Linked DNA regions of Homo sapiens: all the other regions are linked to region 1. The links are contacts of gene promoters, found by promoter capture Hi-C in blood cells and fetal thymus (Javierre and others, 2016). All regions are on one chromosome and are shown on one strand. Each heading gives the region's core, a stretch centred on a gene start or on the middle of the fragment in contact. The rest is flanking DNA. Distances are from core to core; before and after follow the strand shown.

What was found. Contacts are between HindIII fragments. The CHiCAGO score rates a contact against its expected background, and 5 or more counts as called.
Region 2: a fragment that was not itself captured here is called in contact with the fragment with the promoter of LINC01124 in region 1 in 9 of 17 cell types (endothelial precursors, non-activated CD4 T cells, M2 macrophages and 6 more); the score reaches 8.8 in endothelial precursors.
Region 3: a contact is called between a fragment that was not itself captured here and the fragment with the promoter of LINC01124 in region 1, in 1 of 17 cell types (megakaryocytes). The highest score is 6.3, in megakaryocytes.
Region 4: a fragment that was not itself captured here is called in contact with the fragment with the promoter of LINC01124 in region 1 in 12 of 17 cell types (endothelial precursors, naive CD4 T cells, fetal thymus and 9 more); the score reaches 12.3 in endothelial precursors.
Region 5: a fragment that was not itself captured here is called in contact with the fragment with the promoter of LINC01124 in region 1 in 1 of 17 cell types (megakaryocytes); the score reaches 5.3 in megakaryocytes.
Region 6: a contact is called between a fragment that was not itself captured here and the fragment with the promoter of LINC01124 in region 1, in 1 of 17 cell types (megakaryocytes). The highest score is 5.1, in megakaryocytes.

What each region holds. Positions count from the first base shown.
Region 1 is chr2:170,713,303-170,716,016 of GRCh38, reverse strand. LINC01124 (long intergenic non-protein coding RNA 1124) reads left to right here and starts at 1,450. Exons shown (of 1, transcript NR_027433.1): 1 at 1,450-2,714. It overlaps SP5 (Sp5 transcription factor), which reads right to left and starts at 680. Exons shown (of 2, transcript NM_001003845.3): 1 at 454-680. The coding sequence starts at 504. All of the region lies in intron 5 of ERICH2-DT (ERICH2 divergent transcript), which reads left to right. RefSeq lists enhancers at 1-306, 307-1,096 and a silencer at 1,314-1,363. The HindIII fragment of the contact is 7,273 bases long and covers 1-2,714 here.
Region 2 is chr2:170,427,358-170,430,173 of GRCh38, reverse strand. All of the region lies in intron 22 of MYO3B (myosin IIIB), which reads right to left. Among named protein-coding and RNA genes, the nearest start is that of MYO3B-AS1, 78 kb to the right of the region's middle. The HindIII fragment of the contact is 1,151 bases long and covers 761-1,911 here.
Region 3 is chr2:170,315,741-170,318,516 of GRCh38, reverse strand. The region is part of intron 7 of MYO3B (myosin IIIB); the gene reads right to left. Among named protein-coding and RNA genes, the nearest start is that of MYO3B-AS1, 34 kb to the left of the region's middle. The HindIII fragment of the contact is 4,137 bases long and covers 1-2,776 here.
Region 4 is chr2:170,408,701-170,411,548 of GRCh38, reverse strand. The region is part of intron 22 of MYO3B (myosin IIIB); the gene reads right to left. Among named protein-coding and RNA genes, the nearest start is that of MYO3B-AS1, 59 kb to the right of the region's middle. The HindIII fragment of the contact is 1,380 bases long and covers 649-2,028 here.
Region 5 is chr2:170,338,065-170,340,928 of GRCh38, reverse strand. All of the region lies in intron 8 of MYO3B (myosin IIIB), which reads right to left. MYO3B-AS1 (MYO3B antisense RNA 1) reads left to right here. Exons shown (of 4, transcript NR_110576.1): 4 at 1-412. LOC124906090 (a long non-coding RNA gene) reads left to right here and starts at 681. Exons shown (of 4, transcript XR_007087292.1): 1 at 681-762. RefSeq lists an enhancer at 78-642. The HindIII fragment of the contact is 583 bases long and covers 1,192-1,774 here.
Region 6 is chr2:170,241,466-170,244,431 of GRCh38, reverse strand. All of the region lies in intron 7 of MYO3B (myosin IIIB), which reads right to left. Among named protein-coding and RNA genes, the nearest start is that of MYO3B, 65 kb to the right of the region's middle. The HindIII fragment of the contact is 1,556 bases long and covers 691-2,246 here.

The DNA of each region.
Region 1 (2,714 bases), core at 201-2,700:
CGCCATCCAGCCTTAGAGGAAGCAGGCGCGAAGTGGGAGGGGGAGGCATCCGACGGGCCCCTCCCGGCTCCGTGGTCAGTAAGAGTCGGGAAACACCCACAACCCCGCCGGCCGGCCGCTCTCCCTCCCATCTTTTAAGCTCTCTTGTCCTCACTGCCTTCGCGCTCCTCCCTGGCCCGCCCCAGGCTGAAATCAGCAGGAGGGCCCAGCAGGGTGAGCTCCGGTCCTGTTCTCGGCCAGCCGGGCACCTCCGAACAATCCCGGATCCACGCGTCCCTCCAGCAAAGGCCACACCGGATTAGGTGTGAAGTTGGCGTGGGCACCCCTAGGCCTGGCTCCAGCTGCACCCATCGGCGGGGTTCCCTTTGAGGTTCAAGGTGCACGGAGTACCAGGAGAGATCCGGACACGGCCCTTTCCACCTTTCTCCCGCCCCCTCCGGGCTCGGCCCTGACCTGGAGAAAGGCCTGCAGCGAGTCGTTCCGGAGGACGGCCACCGCGGCCATGGCTACGGCTTGCAGGCCCCTGGCTGCGGAGCGGGACGCCGCCGCCGAGGCATGGACACCCGAAGGCGAGGACGAAGGGCCGCCCAGCCTGCCTCCCTGGCGCCTGCTCTGAGCGCCGGGGCCCTCCCCGCCCTTGCCCCTCGCCGCGCCCCGCTCGCTCGCCCCGCGCGCGGTCTGAGCGCTTCAGGATCACCTCCAAGAATTTGATAAGGACTTTGCTGGGCCGCCAGCCAGTCAGAGGGAAGATTTATGGCTTTGAAGTTTGCCGCTACCCAATCATCAAAGAATAGCGGCTCTTTCAGAAGCGAAAGCAAATCCTTTGAATCCACAAAGCTCCTATGGTGTGTTTGTTGGTCTGGATAAAAGAACTGATTATTAGGGGGGATGGGAAGGGAGGAGATAAAGGCGGGACAATTAATGAAGTAATCACTATGTGGGAAATGTATATACACAAATAATTGGATTTTCCTGATCAAAGGGGGCCTTGCCGCCTGGAGACCCGCGCTTGGGTTGCTCGAGACACTCTTCCCGCCCCCCCCAACATACACACACACACACACACACACACTTGCAATTAAAGATTTGCACCGACGCAGCGCCCAAAGTGACAAAGTGTCTTTGTTATCTCTGGAAAAATCTGCCTTCGGCTTCCAGGCGCCGGACTTTGAGACGGCAAAGAGTGTAACTCTCCCCTGTATTTACTTGCACACCCTGCACCCTCGCCGCACACGCACCCGCCCGCGCACACAGCGGACCCAAGCGAGATCCCCGGTGGGGCGTGGGACCGACAGCGCCCGGCCCGCCGCGTGTCCCCCGCCCGCCGCGGTGGGGCCGAGGGCAGGGCTGTGACCTGGGGCGGGGCCGGGCGGCCGCCCAGCGCGGCGTTGGGTGGCGCGCACGCTCCAGGGCCGCCCGCCTGACGAGCGACCGGGGCTCTCCTGTGACGTTCCTGCTGGCGACCTGGAAGTTTTCCTCAGGCCACAACTTTTGCAGAGTGGACCTGGGAAAAACACCCGCGCCGCGCATACCCTCAAAGCTGAGCTCGGCAGGACACCCAAGGCGACCCGTCATGCCCACCCGAGGGGAAGAAGCTGTGCTGTCCCGCCCCCTTCTCCCCAGGCCACCCAGGAGGCCCGGGCTGGGCTGTGGGGGGCCGAAAGCCCCAGCGCTGCTGGTGATTTCTCGCCCGGAGCCCCGCCAAGCCAGCGCGCCCTCTCGCAAGCCTGGCAGACCAGGAGCTACTGGAAAAAAGGCGCGGTCGAGGAAGCCTGGTTGTTGTGGTCCCACAAACCACAAATCATACGAGAGAGGATCCCGAAGGCGGGAGAAAAGTCAGTACAGACTTGTTCCTGCCACCTTTGGAAAGAAAAAGTTCCTCACCAGGCGCGGGGCGTGCTTTGCTCTGGGCAGGGTCGCGCTTGCAGGGGCTTGGGTGACCCCCATCCCTCCCTGGCGGCTCACCTCCTGCCGAGGAGGGCCACCTGCCTCCTCCTGGCCCAGGGCGCAGGGCGCGTCCTGCCCCGGCACTGCGGACGCGGGGATCGCCTCTCCCGGGCGCGCGGGCGGGGAAGGAGGAAGAGGCGGGCGGGGAACCGCGGGGTGCTCACCGCCCTGGGGCATTAGGGGTGCGGAACCGCGTTGGAGGCCTCGCGGCCCCGGCTCGCGAGAGCGCACTGCGGAGTGGCCGCCGGAGCTCGGCCTACTCCTCTCCCCCACCCACCTCCCGTCGGACACAGTCTCCACTCTCCAGGCCGCCGGCCGTGGGGGAGCCCCTAATCAGTTCGCGCCCGGCCTCTCTGCCCGTCTTCCTCACGGGAACCGCACTGCGACCGGGACGGACGGGGTGACCTATCTCCCGATGCAGCGTCAGAGGTTAGCCTAACTACAACGGACTCGGAATCTGGACTGTATAAGGATGCCCTCCGCACTTCCATCAGGGGTCGGGGATGCGATGCCTCCGGGCCCACCTTCTCCCACGCCCAGGGCGCGCCTGCGGAATGAGAATATCGTACTCAAGACGGGTGGGCTGCTTGCGACCCAAATACAATGGGTCCCTCGCACATCCTGCACTCGCACGCCCCCTTCTCCCCCAACGAGTTGTCCCCTCTAAAACGCGAGCGGCGACCACACAACTTGGCCGACCCGATCTGGCTTCTGAAGATGAGGTCGGCTGCTCTGGGAGCGGAGAAGGGGAGAGAGCTTAGTGGTTT
Region 2 (2,816 bases), core at 87-2,586, 290 kb after region 1:
TATATATGAGGGATTCATTCTAGTACCCCCTAGTATACCAAAACCTACGCACTCAGCCCTGAAGAACCCACATATATGAAAAGTTGGCCCTCCATATATGCAGTTTTGCATCCAACCAATATTGTATTTTTTATCTGCATTTGTTTGAAAAAAAAAAAAAAAACCTGTGTATAAGTGGACCTGCACAGTTCAAACCAACATTGTTCAAGAGCCAACTATACAGTTCTTTGTTTTAAGGAGAAGACAGCCCAGAGAAGCTCTTGGGGGGAAGGGGAAAGGCTGACATATAAACAATTCATTGCGATTGAAACTGGTGAGTGTTAGAATAAATCTCTGAATAAAGTGACACAAGGGGACAGAATACTAAGTTTTCATGAGAGGATGAGGAAAACAAAAACTGAAGAGTAGTCAATGAATGAGCTAGATTGTGAAAGCTTAACATGAGTTTGACAGGAAATGGAAGGTATTCTATCTGAAAGACATGCGCAAGACAGATACAGAATGTAAACCTGAGGGTTCCAGAGAGTTCCAGAGAGCTTGTAAGACAAATTTCTAGGAGGCTTCTTATTTTAAAATTAGACATTTAATAATAGCATTAAAACATTTATTATTTTACCCTTGCAAACATAAAAACAAGTTACTCACCACTCCCTTCCAGTGAAAATACCACCTGTGGGGACAGTTTTAGGGGGAAGAAAATATGGGGAAGAAGGCTTTGCTAAGGTATCATAAGTCACTGGTGGGACTGGGAACAAAAGCTTGTTCTGCTCTTCAGGTGGCCTTCAGGTAGAATGCCCATTCATCTGTGTGGCCAAAGGTGGATGGTTTGGATACGAGCTACTAGGAGACTCATTCCAGTTAAAATAGTGCTGATATGGCCAAAGTCTTAAGTAAAATCTCATATGGGTCAGGTAGTTTCATACAGAGAAGTTACATTCCACAGTCTAAGAATAGAATCCTAAATAAAATGCTCAGGCAGGAGCAAATCAACTGATCACTGCAAATTAAAAAATCCCTCCCTAGAAGATTTGCACAACATACCTTATCTATTGGTGGTAGGTCAGTCATATAATTTCCCGCAACACCTATGCTTCCTTGTGTTTTTAAGCCTGAGAAAGTTACACAGGGCTTCAGCAAACAAGACGCTGTTAGCTTCCCATTGTGCAGGATTATGATTCAGTGCTTGGAACTATAACTGCTTTTTTGAGTTTCCCTCTTTAGCATGGAAGCAATGAAAAGGACACTGGAAAGTGAGAAACTTGGATTCCTATCCCACACCTGCCACTGACTTAAGGAGATCATGTCTACTCTTTATGACTCATTTGTATTATATGTCAAATGAGGAGTTTGAGAAGATCAGTGGTTCTGCACTTGTGTGTCATGGCATTCCGTCATGGTGTCCATAATGAACACCCTTTGTGGCTATGTAGCTTCACCTAGATCAATGCCAGGCATGTGGTGTAGATGGGGGTGGACTGTTCTCTGAAATGGAACTACAACGAACAGTGTGTAATGTCAACCTGGTGCCAAAATAAAATATTGTGTGATATCTGTGGCCAGGACATGTGTGAGCTTTACCTAAGCTATAAATCAGAGAGCTAATCAAGGAAGTAAACAGTATTGTTCAAAAATCAACAACACGCTGAACAACAAGGAAACACGTAAGTGCAATAACTAGATGCAAGTTGGAGTAAAAAAAGTTAAGTATTGTTAGGCTTCCATCCAGCTCTGAAATTTTATCTATAGTTGTGAAATATCTCCTAAAAGACCCCTGAAGTGGGGGAAATAAGAAAGAACAAAATAAAGACAATAAAACTAAAATCTGCAAAATGTATTATTTCTTAGCAGTTCAGTAGGCAACAGAAGAAGTGGGTGGTGATGATAGCCTCGCTTAGATAAATGGAGGAAGCTTAGATAGTGGTTTTACAGAGGCCTGGATATTTAATTTGCCAATGTTCTCTTCACAGCTAACACAGGCAACCAGCAATGGCTCTGTTGCTATGATCTCTTCAGTTATTCCTCCTCCTTTACTTTGCTATTGTGGCTAAGGTAAGCTTATTCAGTTCTCTAATTTTTTAATATCATTCTTGTTTCTTAGCACGTGAGAGGAGACAGAGGCATAGTTTTTTGCTCCCTTTCTGCAATGTTTTTAAGATTAATGAATTCAAGGTGTTCATTTTTCAACATCTTTATAACATCTATTCTCCTAGTAAAACATTATGCTTCTGTTTGCATATTGGCAAGTACCAGCCATTTTGAAAAACTGGGTGCTAATGTGAAGGCAATAATCACTTATACGAGCTTTTTTTTCCTATTGGGTCTCTGAAAGTACTCAAGGGTAGCTTTTGATATATAGGTATCCAAGTCTAATTTTCACATTTACCAGTTATTTTTGTTATATTTTAAAGAATGACTATTCCATGTCACTAGCTCTTTTATAAAAGAACCTAGTATAAACATCCATGTATATGTATATATCCTTGGGAAAAACTATAGCAACTTAAGAATCCAGAAAATAAGGAGAGGCATACTGAAATAGGTAGTATTCCACAGGAAACCAAACTTGCATGTGCCCAATTGGCCAGCATTACTCATATCTAAACTACATTGTTATAATGTTTCTGAACACCCATGCACACACATTTCTTATAGATATATGTATAACCCGTTCATAAAACGCCAGTGCCCAGAAACACTTCTTCCATTGAAATTTATATGTTTCATGGTGTTAAAGAATGAAGTTAATGTAACTTACATTCTTAAGCACAGGCATTGATTTTTGGAGACCTTGGCTTTATGGAACTGTAATGCTGTAT
Region 3 (2,776 bases), core at 40-2,539, 400 kb after region 1:
CCAGTTCTTCCCAGTCCTAGCCCTCCCCATCCTATTGGCTCATAGCCCTGAACATCTCCTTCACCATGTGCCACCAATTCCTAGTCCTGGATCTGCATTGACTACAAGGTATTAAGGACTATAATATTTAGTTAAATCAGTGTGTCAGTGGAATAATTTAGAAAGTAGTAAAAGAGAATCTCTAGTTAACCATTAACATGGTATTAAGACAAACCCTGGTGAAGTAAACAGACCAGATTTTTCAGTCCCATTTGGTCAATCTAAGGAAAGTCTAAGCAAAGATGAATATAAACTGTCCAGTGCTCTCTCTCTACTCTCCAAACTTGTATGCAACTAGTTAGTTTCCCAATGACAACTAATGATGCTTTATATTTTACAAAGCACTGTCACAAATGTATTTCATTCAATCCTCAAAATGACCCTATGACCTAGGTAAGGTGGCATGATTACTCTTATTTCACAGACGAGAAAACAAACTTGAGGAAAATAAAGGACATATCCAAGGTCACTCTATTATTTGGGTGAAAAGTAGCAGTTATAAACTAATTTTTCTTGCTTTCAACTCACTGAGTTTTTCAATGCGTCCCATGAATCAGTAGTCCCATGAGAAATCCTGTGACCAAAAATTTAGAAAATGGTGAAGATTTTATCACGATAAAAACTCTAGGAAATCCTGCAGTAAAGCATCTGGTTACCTTTGTTTTCCACAATGTTTCTCACACTTCTCTGATCATGGAACCTCCTTTTTAAGAATAAATTCCCACAGAATTTTGAAAAACACTACCCTATAGTAAGCTGCCTCATGGGAAGCACAGGGAATGCCAGCTTGAGTAAGGTTAGGGCTCCTTGGAGAAATACTCTCCTCTTAGCAACCTCCGGTCTTTCACCAAACATTTCCTCCTATCTGCAAACAGAAGAGGACTCTGGTGATGGGGCAAACTAGAGTATTAGGATGAGGATAAGGGACAAATCAAAATACACAGATACACTTACTATCAGATCTGAAATCTTCCCAAAATGGCCCTAACTCCATGTTTTTCAAAACAGAGTTTACAGCCCTTTGCATAGAATCATCCAGGAAATTTGGTGAACACAAAGAGTCCCAGACTATCACAGACCTAATGAAACAGAACCTCTGGGAACAGGGCCCAGGAATCTGCATTTTAACAAGTTCGCTAGGCAACTGTGACATAACTAGAATTTGGGAAACAGACTTATGTAGTCAACAACAGATGTGAGATACTTTTCCAATTAAATCAAAGTCACAAACCAAAATGCAAATCGCCCAAGATGCATCCAGTGGGGGACTATTTGGTTTCTCGGTAATAACCACATCTCAATGAGACCAGCCTTCCTGGGGAAGGCTATTCCATGGTCTATCAGATCTTTTCATTAGGGAAACTTCCCTGCTATTCCATCTAAGTAGTTTTTCTTAATTTGATCCTATTACTTCCATGCTTTATACAAAGATGAGTATAGCAGTTATCCTCAATAAACAAAAATGCAATACAAATGACACTCCAGGCTCATGTTTCCATCCAATGGCCACATCTCTTTACAAAGTGAGAGTCAATGCAGGTGTCTGCAGCCAGCTTCTATAGGTCCCAAATTTTGATTTAGATGAGCAGTGCCATCTTCAGTGTCAAATGTGTAGCCATCAGTGGCACCATTCTCGCAAACAGATGGCATGCTCACAGCACCTCACCCACATTACAACAATTGGGACTCAGAGGACTGTTCAAGATGGAGGCACTTAAGGAATTAGAATGTGACCATAACTATCGACTGAGTTATAGATACTGTGATTTTCTGGCCTTAGGAAAAGGACCATGAATAAGATAACATTAGTCTCATGACCATCAAATGGAATAAGCCAAGGCAGCAGAAGACATTTTGTTCACACATCAGGAAGTACCTGCTGACTAGCTAGATTATTAGGAAAGGCAATAAACTGCCAAAATAGGTGGCATGGCATCCTCCATAGGTCATTAAAAACAGTAATATGATCTTCTAAGATTTCCTGCCCAGGCATAAGTGGGTAGATAAGATGACCTTTTCAGATTTTAAAATGAAGATTTTATGAGTATTCAGAAGATGCAGTGAGGGAAAATTGCTCTTAGGAACAAAAACAAATTCTTTGGAAGAGGAAATGATTCATTTAAAGACCATTTTAAGAACTTCAGCTGATTTTCCTAGAAATACCTTGGTTTCAGAGTAATTTGGAAATAATTCAGTAAATTGTTATATCTAAAATAATTAATTAGCTTTTAAAGTCAGATACTTCATTAATACACACACATATGTACATATACTTCATTAATACACACACATTTATATGTGTCTATATGCATATGCATGTATGGCTGAAGTTTTGAAGATCATAACACTGTGAGATATGGGAATATGGAATACTAGGCCAATTATTTCATCTAAGAACACAATAACAATCAATAGTAATCATGCCAGTAAAAAATAATCCACTAAATCAGCTTTGGAATCATCTCTGAAATAGCCCAGACATGTGTCATTTTGAGATCACATTTGCATTGATCTGCCTAGATCCTAGGAGACAAAGAATGTGATTTTTTCCAGATATCTGTCAGGATCAGGGTTCCAGTCACAGAGATAAGCTAAGGCTAGGAGAGCCTGCAGAGTGTGGGCTCTGAAGTCAGATTGCCTGGGTTCATATTCCAGTTCTAGTGCTTACTATCTTCATCAGCCTGGGCAATTTCCTAACTCCTCTAAGCCTCAGTTGTATCATATGTAAAATGCGATA
Region 4 (2,848 bases), core at 89-2,588, 300 kb after region 1:
ACTGCATATAAACTGGTGGTCCTGTAACATTATCATACCATAGTTGTACTGTACCTTTTCTATGTTTAGATATGTTTAGATACACAAATACTTGGCATTGTCTTACAATTAACTACAACATTCAGTATAGTAACATACTGTACAGGTTTACAGCCCGAGAACAGTAGACTACAACATATAGCCTAGATGTATAGTAGATTATATCATTTAGGTTTGTGTAAGAACTCTATGATGTTTGTACAACGATGAAATCAACTAACGATGCATTTCTCAGAATGCATCCCCATCATTAAGCTATGCATGACTATACTTTTTTTGATATATACTAATGAAGGGAATGTTACCTGCCCAGCAACCCAGAGAGGAGGTAACTTGAAAGAACAGGAAAGTGATCCTGGGGCTGTTTTGAAAGCAAAGGACAGTGGCAATCTAGCTACCAGAAAACCTCAAGTTAACTGTCAGGAATCCTTCGATAAAGAAATTAAAGTTTTTCTTTGCATTTAAACAATTTTAATTCTAATTTTTTTTCAGAGATGGGGGGTGTCACTGTGTTGCCCAGACCGGCCTTGAACTCCTGGGCTCAAGTGATTCTCCTGCCTCAGCCTCCTGAGTAGCTGGGACTCTAGCCATGCGCTACCACATCAAGCTTTTTTTTTCTCTTTGTATTTTAAGGGGTCTTCTCTATCTTTTGGAGAAAAAAACCCAACATTACTATGACACAGAATGCACACACAAAAAAGTATGCAAAACATAAATGTACAGCATAATAAATATAATGCAAGCATACATGTAACCACCACCAAGATCAGGAGCCAGACCACTGCCAACATCTCTTAGGGGTCTTCCTAACAAACGTCTTCTCCTCTTTCAAAATTGAGGAGTCCAGCACTGGACCTCCTTTTATGCTTTGAGCTAATTGCCTCTAAGGTTTCCCAAGTTTTTTTTTTTTTTTTTTTCTTTTTTTTTGTTGAGACGGAGTCTTGCACTGTTCCCAGGCTGGAGTGCAATGGCATGGTCTTGGCTCACCGCAACCTCCACCTCCTGGGTTCAAGCAATTCTCCTGCTCCAGACTCCCTAGTAGCTGGGATTACAGGTGCCCGCCACCACACCCGGCTAATTTTTTGTATTTTTAGTAGAGACGGGGTTTCACTATGTTGGCCAGGCTGGTCTCGAACTCCTGACCTCGTGATCCACCCACCTTGTGATCCGCCTGCCTCGGCCTCCCAAAGTGCTGGGATTACAGGCGTGAGCCACCGCGCCTGGCCTCAACTTTGATCTTTTTCCTTCCTCCCTGTAGTTCATTCCTCAAAAGAGGTTTGTAAAGTAATTGACCATAATATATATGCTTACTGAACTAGTGCTCCATTTAATTTCGATAAAACAATTAAAGCAAGGAAAAATAAAAGTGACAAGAAAATGGTTTCTTATGCATTGAAAATATTAGCATATTCTTTTCCAAAGTGCCAGGATAGTGTGGGATCTTGCTTCTAGTGGGAACATCAAGATGTATAGGCACCTTCCCCTTCACGAGAGGGACATGCCTGAAACAAGCATTGGCAAAGAACAGCATAACTTATTTCTGTCCAGTGAGGTTTCCCATCTTCAAAGGCTGTAACATAATAACCCCCAAAAATATAGACTATGAACGTTTTAAAATTTAGAAAAGTAATATTCTGACATTCAACACAGGATGCACAATCATGTTAGAATCGAGGTTTGAGGGCAACTATTGTCATAAGGAGATAAATTAGTGCCCAATTCTGTATAGAAAATTCCATATAGAAAATGAAGTTAAAAGAAAGTTCTAGTTGGTGTACGGCAAAGCCGTATTACCTTTACTCCTATATTTCCCTCGTTGCCTAAAAAGTACCTTATTACTAGAAGCTGTTCTTTAAATGTTTGTTGATTGAATTCATTCCTACATAAATAATTCCAGAAAAAGAAAACACAATCATGCTTATAAGTTTTGATGTTTGTGGCTTCTTAACTATACTCAAAATGTGGAGAATCCTAAGCTATACTCAAGCTTAGGATCTCAAAGGAAATTACTATGCATAATATATAGCTCAGGAATACTGGGAAGCCTATTGGTACATCACGTTTGTGTCTAGTCTTATTTTTCACTTTTGTTTCTATCAAGTGGTGTGGAGTGTAGTTTCAAAACAAGATTCAGAAACAAGAGGAAAGCTCTTTGGGAGGGGTAAAAAAGACGCAGCGGCGGAGGTTATCTCTTTGTTCCTGTTCCTCCCGCAGTTGGGTGAATCAAGGGAGAACAGAGACCGGCTGCAGGGCCTTACTTTCTGCATAGCGCCCCCTAGTGGTCCAGGCTGTTAAATGGTTTTTATTTTGCCAAAGGTTGAAAAATCGGAAATTCCGAAGTTGTGAACAGATTTGACAAGTCGTTATTAATATTTGTGGGAGGATGTAAATGCCAGCTGAAGAGTTATTTGGATAGATTTTTTTCCCAGAGAGCATGTCCCCTATCAATAATGGCTGTCTCTTCACCTCTGTGCTGAAGTCGCCTGATGAGGAGTCTACATCCCTGGGTCTCTGGTAAGGAAACACCAGATAGCCCTTTCCACACCTGCCCCGAGCTCCTGGGATTCCATATTGAATTAAACCCCGGCTGCTCCAAGGAAGGTCTGGAATGGAAGCTGGAGGGCAGCCTTCTGATGGGCACTGCTACTAGTTCTGTTTACAGGAGCATGTCTGAAAAAAGAGCCGGATTTCAACTTTCCTTCCAAGTTAAGATGAAGCAAAGGCTGTAGACTGTGGCTTTTTTTTTTTTCTTAGCCAGGCTTTTCATTCCTCTGCAAGCTGCTAAAAATCAGACCTGGCAGCCAGTTAA
Region 5 (2,864 bases), core at 234-2,733, 380 kb after region 1:
ACACACCAGTATGCTAGATGCTGATGCAGTTCAGGAAATGCTACCCCAAAATATGGCCCCTCAGCATACTGAGTATTTTAAGCAGAAGGCAATTAAGAAAACCACAAAAACAGAAAGGTCCCTCTGACCTTCTCCCACCCTCTCTCTCTTGAAGATCCTCATGTGACAGGTGACCTGCCATATAATCAGAAGGAAGAAATGTTACACAGAGAGGCTGAGAAGAATCTGAGGACTTGCTAAGTTTTCCCCAGTTTATTACCATTAGATCATATGCCTTTTTTGTTCAATCATACTTCTATACAACTGTCCATCATTCATTAAACCTAACCACAAAAGTAGTTTTCACTCGGTTTTTGAGTGAAGGCTCCTGTGTCACATAAAACTTACATTAAATAAATTTGTTCCACTTTTCTTTTGTTAATCTGTCTTTTGTTATAGGAATGTCAGCCATTAACCTCACAGTAGGTGATGAAAAGATATTACTTTTTCTCCCCTATACTACCCAAGCCAGCCACCTCAAGAAAGAACAGTTCATGTGCAGGTGACCATGTAGTTCAAGTCATCATTAAATCCAAAGCTGAGCAGCCGTGATGCTATTGGTGGAATTGCCCTTGACCAAGAGAAATCCATCTTGATTGTCTCAATAATCGGCTCAAGGACCACTGATGATGAGGTCCTAAATTTAATTCCTAAAAAACCACTAAAGTTATAGAGGCAAAATGAGAAAGCATAGCTCACAAATACCTTGTGACCAATGACTTGGTAAGTATTTTTGTAGTTGATTCCAAAGACCTGAAATTAGCTTGAACTTAAAAAGAAAAGTGACATCCATTAGGACCAAGGTGAAGTTGACAAAATGAAAATTATTTTTATCTTATCAAAAGGCTACTTCTGAATGGAGCCTCCTGACAAAGCAGAAGTCTGGCTGGTACTTGAACCAGATAAACTTGTTATGCAAATAGCTTTAGTCGTAGGGGAAAGGGCTGATAATGAAATCTCTACAAAGCCAACCACACATTATAGAGGTGACAAAACACATCAAGCAGGGTCCTAGCATATGGATGAAAAGCAGTGCAGAATTTATGTGAGCATTGCATTTAATTTATCATAACTAAGCTGTCAGGAATCATGCTTTGACAAACGCATAACTAATGAATATAAATGAATCAATTATCACTAACAACCAAAGCTTCAGAACCAAACAGGCTGATGCTTCTTTTAAAACCCCCAAACAGGTTTACTAATAGTATTTCAGACTTTTAGATGTTTTAAAAAATCTCTCTTACTATCTCTAAATTAAGGAGGCTGGAAATAAATCTGAAACACACTAAGCCACATCCCCAGTGCTCCTGATTTCCTGCCTTCCTGGCCCTCCTACACGCGTATGCACGTGCACACACACACCCCACTGTGCCCTGTCTACATAGCTATAATCACTAGGCTGCAGCCAGACCAACTTGTTCAGATCCCTGCAGCAGTCAATACGAAATCTTTTGGTGGGTAGTGACCAGCATGGACTAAAAAAGACCTAGAGTATTGAATCGACTCTGTTACGGCTCAGTAGTCACATGAGGACAAAGTATTAAAGGTCTTAAAGCCGTTAAGGAACTTTTTGTCCTATTTATTCTTTAAAGAGAAACAGTTAGATTTACTATGTCTTGGTTTACAAAGGGAACTGAAGCAATTATCTGTATAATTCAGGTTAAAAGAAACTTTTCCTAAAATTACCAGATAATCATCTTCTCCAGCCCAGTCCCTCCAATAATGAAAAGCTTATAATCTGAAGGTCTTAATCCTCCATCTTTCTTTCCCTTGACTCCTAATATGAGCAAGATAAGTATAAAAACAAACTAAGGCTCTCTCTTTAAATAGACATTTCAAACCCAGTGAATATCATTGTTTATACTGAATTAGAGATTTGAATAAATATAATGCACAGCATTTGGTCAAACTGCATTTGATAGGCTGAGTAATGGCAGCCTAGTATCAGCAGTCTCCTCTACAGAATGAAAGGATATTATTTGGGGCTGGGCTCAGTGGCTCACACCTGTAAATCCCAGCACTTTGGGAGGCTGAGGTGGGCAGATCACTTGAGGTCAGGAGTTCGAGACTAACCTGGCCAACATGGTGAAACCCCATCTCTGCTAAAAATGTAAAAACTAGCTGGTCCTGGTGGCACACACCTGTAATTCCAGCTACTTGGGAGGCTGAGGCACAAGAATCATTTGATCCCGGGAGGCCAAGGTTGCAGTGAGCCAAGATCATGCCACTGTACTCCAGCCTGGGCAACACAGTGAGACTCTGTCTCAAAACAAACAAACAAAAAAAAGAAAGTATATTATTTGGGAATGGTGGGCAGGCTTCTATTTAAAGATATATAATATAATAATCAGTTCCCAATTTTGAGAAATATTCCCAAAAATATTGCAGAAGAATTTATGGTTGAAGCACCTAAGATGTTATGGGAAAACAGGATTGGAGGGCTGAGGTCAAGAAGGAATCTATAAACACCTATTATATAAAATTTTTCACTAATAAAAAACCGTAAAGACAACTCATTAAACAAAAAAGAAGACTGATGACATATTTCCATCTTAAACTAGTACTAAACCACATAATCACTTAATTTCTAATTGCCTTCCTGACTCATTATAAACTTTCCAGACTCTCCCTCCCTTGCAATTACAACAGGATGCTTTTTGCTTTGCTCCTGACAGTATGCATACTCAAAGGCATTGTTTTCTGTGTTTAGCCCTCCATTCTAGTATTCAAGACCTTTTGCAACTCAGAATGAGTGCATCTGAAATTCTCAGAATTGGGAAAAACATAGCAGATTTGAATTGGCATATAATAGGATTTGCCAT
Region 6 (2,966 bases), core at 219-2,718, 470 kb after region 1:
TCTCCTTACAATCCCCTGACCTGGCTTCAGTTTTCTGTCTCCTTTTGCCAATGTTTTGAGCCTTTCCAGGTGGGGCTGGGAAAAAAAATATTATCTGTGGTAGAGGAAATAGCAAAATGGGACTCAATTTTGAATCAATGACCCTAAGTTTAGAACTCTTGCTATTGTCCCTTTATCTGCAGACAAAAAAATTTCTAGAACCCTGGAGAAGGTTGAACCTACTAAGGGGGCTAAAAGGACCCTATAGAAGGAGGCAGCCAAGACCAGTCATACGACTCATCAACCGAGCACAAAACCACCACAAAAACTGATAGAACTGATAGCAAAGGAAAAGTACCATGGCCCTAGTTCTCTTCAGAGGATGACAGCATCACCACTCGTTGTAGACATCATGGCAGTGGAGACTAAGGCCAGCCCTGCTTCCTCATGTGCAGTTCCTGTCACAGCATTCATGTATGTGTGTGAGGGTGAGGTGTATGTGACCGTATCTCTTAAGAGTGTGTCTATTTACAAAGGAGTTGTGACAATGGATACTAATGGCAGAGTCCTTCACATAGATGCAATGTAAGTAGTAGGGACTTCAGAAATCAGCCTTCATTCTCTCTTAATTCCTCATACAATCATCAATCAATCAATTAGCTGAACTTTCAAATGACTGATCTCATGGGTGGCTCTTTTTGAATAGAAGCTTTCAATTCTTCAGCTACAAGGGAAAGAAAATTCCTTACAGTATAAATATGCCCTTGAGATATTTTCCTTGGTAGCATCCAGCATGAATTGAATGCTTACTATGAAATATTCTGACCAATTTACATTCTTTAACTCCCACAATAGCTCTATGAGGTCGACATTACTCAAATCCTCATTTTATAAGGGAGGACACTGACACACACAGACATGCAGTAACTTGGTCAAGTTCACACTGGTGAACTTGAAAGTGATGGAGCTGCTAGTTGAACCCGTGTAGATTGACTGTAGAACACTGTAATAACTTGAGAGCAAAACTGGTCCAATTTTCTGTTCCTTCCTCTATCTGTGCTTAGAACCCTGTCACCAATATGAGAACTACCTCAGGCTAGCCTGCTGGAAGATAAGAAACAACATGGACCAGAGCCAAGTCATCCTAGCCAAGGCTATCCTAGACCAACCAACACAGCCACATTCTCAGCTGATCACAGATGCATGAGCAAGCCCAGCCAAGATCTGCAGAACCACCCAGAGAAACCCATAGACTCATGAAAAATCATAAATGTTTGTTGTTTAAGCAACTAAGTTTGGGGATGGTTTGTTACATACTAGTAGTTAACTGATACAAACAACCATGCTGGACCACTATACTATATTTTCCTTCAAATGATACTGGCTTCACTTGACTCTAGGATCCTCCAGGAATGGATAGCTCCAGCTGTGAAGAACCTTCCTTTAGACTATCACCTCATTGCTCCTCATCCCTGTCTTACCCCTGCCCCTACCATTATGCCAACCCATAAAGGCAGTTATAATTATTCCTCACCTTTATTCCTTAGTTTTTTCTGGAGTAGAGAGGAAACCAGGGTGCCTCAACTCTAGCACAATTTTGAGCTCTGTTTCCTTGCCTACTTCTTTGCCCATCTCTCCATCATTTAGGAGGTGGGTTGGAATTAGCCACAGTCAGTTGTGCCAAAATAATATACCAGGGTAATGAGAAGAAGGCACAGATAGCGCTGGGAATCAACCCCTCGCACCTTTGGCCTGTCTCTCAGGGTGAGCTTCTTACTCAGTAGTGGTGGGGACCCAAAGTCCCTGAAGGCATGCTCCTGCTTTGTCACCTGATCCCCAAATGAAACCTTGCAAAGCTAAATTCTCCCTGCCTGCCAGGACTCAGGCAGGGGGCAGCAAGCAGTACCTACATAGGACTGAATGGCCCCAGCTGCTCAACTCGAATTTAAAAATAATTTGGCAATGTGTTCCACAGAGTGAAAGCCTTCTGGGGCATTTCTGCCAGATGCCTCCAGCTACTGGGTTCCCACGGAAAGGGAGTGTCAAGTCCTGGGCCCAGAAGATATTCTGGGGATCTGGAACAGGGTACATACTGAAGGCAATCCATTAAAAATGGGATTAGAAATCTCTCAAAGAAAGAAAAAGATACATAAAACATAACTGTTTTTCTATTGGAATATTTTAAAACTTTTTTTTTGCTATTAGGCACTCAATAAATGCTAAATGATGCTAATTCTTCTAGCACTTCTTGCTTTATGAGTGAAGCTTGGATCGTGGGGATTCATTGCTCAAAAGGCCAATAGCTAAGTGACCTGGGTTGGTGAAGAGAAACCAATACTCCCCAGGGCAAATCCAGCCTCACTGTGCCATTAAACACTCAGCACCCCTCACTCATTACACTTCAACAATAGTTTAGTTTTAATTTCTTTCCTTTATATTTCACAGCCCTAAAGGAAAATGTCCTGTGACAATTCTGTAATAGTGAGACAATTACTGGTGACTCAGGGCTCCCTGCTGCCTCTGCATCTCACAGCGGAGGAGCAGGCAGAGACTACTGCTTCCCATATAGGAACAATTTGGTTTGTGAATTAGGAAAGTCAGCATCAAAAGGAATCTTAAAAAAAAAAATGCCTATGTAAGATAAAAATTTAGCCCAAGGATCCTATTTCAGGATGAGAGTCGATTGTAGGCACTGAGTCCCTGAGGAAGCTCTTCAAATAGACACACAAATATTTCAAGCAGTGACTTGCCCATCTGCCCCACTACCCACAGCATCCAGGCAGTCCACAAGGATCCAGACCCTGGGTTCCCAAAAATCTGATTTCTCCTTTTTGTTATCCAAACTCTCTCCGTTTCACCTTTACCGATAAATGAGGAGGAGGCAGTAAACTGATGTGCTCCTTGACAGCAAAAACTCTGTCATCTCTGCAACTCAAGCACCCAACCCAAGCCTGAGTCTGGACGAACAAAGTTTAAGGCGTCCTAGG